Regions from separate parts of the Homo sapiens genome. Here region 1 is linked to region 2. The links are contacts of gene promoters, found by promoter capture Hi-C in human tissues and cell types (Jung and others, 2019). All regions are on one chromosome and are shown on one strand. The core of a region is centred on a gene start or on the middle of the fragment in contact, and the rest is flanking DNA. Distances in the headings are between cores, read along the strand shown.

Region 1 (2,977 bases), core at 283-2,782, 480 kb before region 2:
AATGACCACAAATGTCAAGCTAGCCTTCTGACCTCCTTGACAAATCCACCTGCTAGATCTTCCCTAGTCAACTCATTTTCCTATCTTCCAAGATGCCTATATCACACCACCTCCTCTCTCTCAAATTTTATAAACCCCCTCCCAATTCTGACTCTCAACTGATGATCCTACCCTACTTTTCCATAAAAATTAAAGCAATCAGAAAAAACTACATTTTCCCACAACGACATCTACCAGTCTATCTGTACCTCCATTAATATTCTCTACCTTCATCAATGGATGAAAAGTCTCTGCCAATGTTTTAAAATCAACTTCTCCCCTTATGCACCTTCATTTTACCTACTCAAGGTCATGGCTGCTGCAATTTCCCATGATATTTTCCACATCTCAAATATGATCAGTTTTTTCTTTCCACTGGGTCATTCTCATCAGCATGCAAACTTACTATACTATTTTCCATCTTTAAATCAACACACATACACACCCCTAACTTTCCTTGACCCCACACATTTTCTTCTAGCTACCACACCATTTTCTCTATCCCTCTTTGCAGCAAAACTCCTCTAATGTGCCATCTATACTCAGTGCCTCCAATTTCGTACATCCAATTCTGTCCTTCAGCTATGCTAATCAGGCTTTCATCCCCACCACTCTAATAAAACTACTTCTCAAGGTCTCCAAAAACTTCCATCTTGACAAACCCAGTTGGTCAATTCTTGGTGCTCATCTTAGCCTCTCAAGCAGAATTTGTCTAAGTTGAAATATTTTCTTCACTAGGCAGGCTTCTAGCCAACATACCCTTCAGGTTTGATTCCTACTTCACTCCTCAATCTCCTCTCTCCAGTTTCTGAATTATTATTATTATTATTATTTGAGATGGAGTCCCGCTCTGTAGCCCAGGCTGGAGTGCAATGGTACAATCTCGGCTCACCGCAACCTCCGCCTCCCAGGTTCAAGCAATTCTCCTGCCTCAGCCTCCTGAGTAGCTGAGATTACAGGCGCCTGCCACAACACCCAGCTGATTTTTGTATTTTTAGTAGAGACAGGGTTTTTCACCATATTAGCCAGGCTGGTCACAAACTCCTGACCTCAGGTGATCTGCCCGCCTCAGCCTCCTAAAGTGCTAGTATTACAGGCGAAAGCCACCGCACCCAACCCAGTTTCTGAATTCTAAAGGTTATATTGCTTCAGGGGTCCCTCCTTGGCCCTTTTCCCTATCTAAACTCATTCTCTAAGTTATCTAATCTCATGGTCTTTATTTTTTGGAGACAGACTCTTGCTCTGTCACCCAGGCTGGAGTGCAGTGGCGCAATCTTGGCTCACTGCAACATCTGCCTCCCAGGTTCAAGTGATTCTCCTGCCTCAGCCTCCTGAGTAGCTGGGACTACAGGCACACGCCACCACACCTGGCTAATTTTTGTATTTTTAGTAGAGACGGGGTTTCACCATGTTTGCCAGGCTGCTCTCGAACTCCTGGGCTCAAGCGATCCACCTGCCTCGGCCTCCCAAAATGCTGGGATTACAGAAGTGAGCAATCGCACCCGGCCCTAATCTCATGGCTTAAACACTATTCAAAAACTGATCCTAACAGTTAACATCTAGTGAGTACCCTCGGCCACACTGTTCTAATCACTTTGTTTGTAATAACTAATTTAATCCTCACAATAACCCTATGAGGTAGACATTATTACCCCCATTTTACAGATGAGATAAATGATGCAGACAGATGTCAAGTAACTTGCCTATAATTACACAGTTAGTAAGTGGCAGAACTGAAATTTGCATTCACAGTTTGGCTCCAAAGCTGGTGTATACTGTCTCTATACTAATGATTTCCAAATTTAGATCTCTAATCTTGGCTTCTAACCTTGGCTCCAGATTCATATATCTAAACCATCTACCTGATATTAGATTTCTAGTAGGTATTTAGATTTCACAAACCTAAAATGCTCAAAACTGAGATACTGATTCCCCAACTCACTCTCACCTCAAAACAAACCCTGCTCCTCCCTCAGTCTTCTCATTCCAGTAAATGGCACCAACATTCACCAGTTGCTCAAGCCAAAAATGTTAAATGACATGTGACTAACGTGCAGATAAGACAAGGATGCCAGTGCCAATCTGTATATTAAATATTAGTAAAGCTTAATTTTTTTAAATAAAGCAATATAAATAGTTAATATAATAGTTTTAACAGTTTGTTCCTGAACATTGGAAACCATAGGCCTAGATCACTGCAAAAGCTTCCTAAATAGTTCAGTGCTTCAGACCTTGCCTTTTCTAAAGCCAGTTTGCCAGTCAGTAGGTGGAATAAACTTTGTAAAATGTAAATTAGATCTTGTCACACGATCTTCAATTATACTCAAAATCCATGGGCATTATGGTGCAATATGCTCTGGCCCCTGCCTACCTCTTCACCCTCATCTCTTGTTACTCTCCACTTTGTCCTCACAGCTCTTGTCAGACCAGCATTCTTGCTTTTCCTCCAACATACCAAACCGGTTCTTACTGAGTTAGGTCCTGACTCTGTCTTTCCTGTCTTTGCGTTTACTGTTACCTGAAATAAGTTTTGCAAGATTTTCTTCCTCACAGGAACAGCCTTTTCTGACTAATCTATCTAAATAGCTCCCACCCCGTCACAGTCTCTCCCCTTATTCTGTGTTATATTTTTTCATAGCACTTACCACTTCTTCACATGACAGATTAGCTCATTTCTTATCTTCCCCACTAAAATATAAGCTCCATGAAGGCTTATTCATCCCTGCATTCCCAGGGCCTTAAACTGGTCATGACATAAATTATCTACTCAAATAAATATTACTAAACAATGAATAATATTTAGTAACCATGATTCTTTACTAAATATTTCTCAACTTTACTAACCAAAAGTTAATTAAAATCCAAATATAAAAATTCTAGACAACTACATTCTTACAGAATCAAAAGGTACATTTATATATGATCTTGTCTTATTACA
Region 2 (3,440 bases), core at 644-3,143:
GAGGCTGCAATGAACTACGATCATGCCACTGCACTGTAGCCTGAGCAACAGAGTGAGACCCCAACTCAAAAAAAAATTTTTTTTTTTACATCCCCTTTACTAAAATGTCACTGGTCCTTCCCCTCACCTTTCAAGAAGTAGAAATCCTGGGCAGAAATTAGCATCCCAGGAATGACTAGTGTTGGCAATAGATTGAGACATATGAATCCTTAGAGACTCAGCACAGAGAATTTAACATGTTCTTGTTATAAATCACTCATATGATAAAGGAGAGCTAGATATGTAGCCAAAACTGTCAGATGTGCAACTGTTGGTGAAGAATATGTTAAGGCAAAAAATTAAGCTTAATGAAAGTTGCAAGAGTAAGAATCCACATGACTACAATTTTCCTATCATTATCTTACACTTTATGGATGATACTCTTAACAAACCGAATTTCTGCCAGAATAATAACAGATTTTTCTAAAACAAAGAAAAAGTATCTAAGGCTTCAACATAGAAAGCTTTAACTTCTTAGCTCTGTTTCTTAAATACATAAACCAAGCTTATTTCTTGTACAGGGAAGCACAATGAATCACCTAATTGCAAAAAACAAGAAGATATTGGACCACAAAATGGGGGAAGAATGACTAAAATTTATTCAGCAACTACCGTGTCAAACTGCTGTCTTACTTCCTGGTTCAGATTCTGTCTTCCTCTGGGTAAATTCCCTTTTCTTACTGTGCCTAGTATCCTGAGACCTCTGACTTCCCAGGAAGCTCCAAATGAATATTATATATAACCAGTGTCTGCCAGTTCTAGATCACACTACCTCTCTTCCTCCAGTAAAACTGTCTCACAGCTAAGCTGTCACTAAGAAAGGGTCCAGCAAATTAATACATACACTAAGGTTTTCTGAGGAACTATACCTTCACGTGCTACCCCTTTTCTCTCATAAGTTTCTGCAGACAATGCCAAAATTCACAAGGAGGTTAAATTCGAGTCTTCAGTGCCAGGTCTATGGACAAAGTACTTTTGAGAAATGCTTTCCGGAGCCCCTCAAATCATCGTAATGCCTAAAAGGCTTTCTCTTCTCCTTTCCTGTAAGGTTGACACTAAAAATCATGAAGGCCCTCCTTCCTGTCCTCCTCTGGAATTCAGAATTCATAAAGTGTTTGAAGAGGCCTGGAAAATTAGGTCAGATAAACTGCCTCATCATCTAGAAGAGGCAGTGTCTAAATCCACCCTTTGCAACACTAGTCAGGGTCTCCACGTGGGATCACCCCGCCAGGACTTTAAAATCAGAAATCTTTCCGGTATTTTTCCGTAAGAAGAAGCTTTTGTGGGGTCTACATTCACCAGCAACCCCAAAAGTGTGGGACTTGATATTCTATGTCATTTATTGGCCCTCTCAACAAAACTACGGTCCGAAAGCATGAGAACGCAGGGAGCTGGGAGGAGGAGCCTCTCTCTTCCCCGGGTTTAAATAGCAGTAGTACCTCTGGGACTGACCTCTCCAAGGGCCAGAAAGAACTAAGAAAAAGAAAAGGGAAAGCAAAGCATAGGGATAGATAACTCGAGGTGTGAGCATAAGAGGCACTGGGGGTCCTAGATGAATATGGGAAGGGGGAACCCGTAGAGGAGTATAGGGGTACAGAAGTTAGGGGCGTCGAGAGGCCAAGGGGGGCCGGGCTGGGAGGGGGCGGGGAGAACGGCCACGTCAGTCCCGGCCCCGCCCGCCACGTTTTCCCTTCGTCCTTCACTCCCACCCTCCGCTCAGGGCATCAGTTCTCACCGTTCGTCATGGCGGCTGGCCCTGGACCTGGGTAGGGGGTCCGGGTTCAGTGGTAATAGCGGCGGAGATGGGGGAGCGCCCGCTTGACACTTCCCGATCCGGGCCGAGGTGACTGGAAGAAGCCGTAGTACGCAGGAGCAAGGGCCGAGAGGCGAGCGCCGAACGCTATCAGGAGTGGCTAGCCGATTGTCGAGCTCGGGAAACTGCGTGTTTACGTAGGGTAAGAAGAACGCTATCTCGAAGGCTTCGTACTTGGCCGTGGTAACTAAGTCTTTTCTGCGTGCCCCTGCGGGCGTAGGGCTGGGGCTGGCCCGCGTCAGTGTGTTTGAAAAGGTAAAGGCTTGTAGTTTTGTAGTTTATTTTGCGCCGTGGCGGCTGCTGTGTGTAAGCAGCAGCCTACCTATGAGGTTTTCATCGTCCTGGGCTTCCACTTGAGAGAACTCCAGCACCGCGGGTGAAGAAGCCGCACCTGCGGCCTCCGTGACTGCCCTTGAGCTGCTCTTCCTTACTCCGGATGGAAATCTAGTCAGACTGCGTCTGAACGTTGCAAATGAAATGAGGAACCTTGTAACAAAAACAAGTCGCGGCCGGGCGCGGTGGTTCACGCCTGTAATCCCAGCACTTTGGGAGGCCGAGCCAGGCGGATCACCTGAGGTCGGAGTTCGAGACCAGCCTGACCAACAAGGAGAAACCCCGTCTCTACTAAACATACAAAATTAGCCGGGCGCGGTGGCTCATGCCTGTAATCTAAGCACTTTAGGAGGCCGAGGCAGGCGGATCACCTGAGATCGTAGTTCGAGACCAGCCTGACCAACATGGAGAAACCCCGTCTCTACTACAAATACAAAATTAGCCGGGCATGGTGGCTCATGCCTGTAATGTAATCCCAGCTACTCGGGAGGCCGAGGCAGGAGAATCGCTTGAACCTGGGAGGCGGAGGTTGCGGTGAGCCGAGATCGCGCCATTGCACTCCAGCCTGGGCAACAAGAGCGGAAACTCCGTCTCAAAAACAACAACAACAACAACAACAACAACAAAAACCAAGTCGCATCTTTCAGATCCTAAAGCACCACGTCGTCGGAAAACATTCAAAGGGTTGCCCGTTTGCTTGTGTGAATTTTTCTTTTCCTTAAACTATCAGGAGAATCTCGATTCTCCTGCATTTAATTAATGCTGGGATCACTTCAGCCACTTTAACCAGAAATCGGCGATATCTAGACACCGCTTCTCTGAGGACACTTTGACAACGTGACAAAAGACATTGCCAGTCTAATGATGGGGGTGGGGTGGAGGAGACAAAAGTACAGATTCAGATTTGCATACTGAAATCCTTAATTGCACACAACTCGGCCCGCTTTATTAGAGTTCGGGCGGAAGTGCGACACCGAGTCCTCCAAGGCTAACTGGAGGGTTAAATTATACGGTTACTAATCCGCCGTGCTTGTCAAGGGCCTAAAGGGACTCTGCCCCTTTCTGCTGCAGTGCCATCTGCTGGCTGCAGCCTGCTTGGTTACCCAGAGGGAAAACTGCCAAAGCATCCTCTGGAAGCTGGCCTGGAAAGACAAGCCAAAGTCTAGTGCAGGACAGATGCCTTGAGAAAATATACATACATGCAGAAAGAAAAAAAAAAAAAGACGGCGTATATACGGGACAAAACCTAGGACAA

What was found. The method cuts DNA at HindIII sites, captures the fragments that hold promoters and counts their contacts. A contact is called where the count stands out against the background at its distance.
Region 1: a fragment that was not itself captured here is called in contact with the fragment with the promoter of TMEM167B in region 2 in 1 of the 25 tissues and cell types used here (psoas muscle).

The regions. Positions count from the first base shown.
Region 1 is chr1:109,570,206-109,573,182 of GRCh38, reverse strand. The region is part of intron 1 of GNAI3 (G protein subunit alpha i3); the gene reads right to left. Among named protein-coding and RNA genes, the nearest start is that of GNAI3, 23 kb to the right of the region's middle. The HindIII fragment of the contact is 7,050 bases long and covers 1-2,977 here.
Region 2 is chr1:109,089,217-109,092,656 of GRCh38, reverse strand. TMEM167B (transmembrane protein 167B) reads right to left here and starts at 1,893. Exons shown (of 3, transcript NM_020141.4): 1 at 1,775-1,893. The coding sequence starts at 1,784. It also overlaps the pseudogene NDUFB3P1. RefSeq lists an enhancer at 2,060-2,259. The HindIII fragment of the contact is 5,904 bases long and covers 931-3,440 here.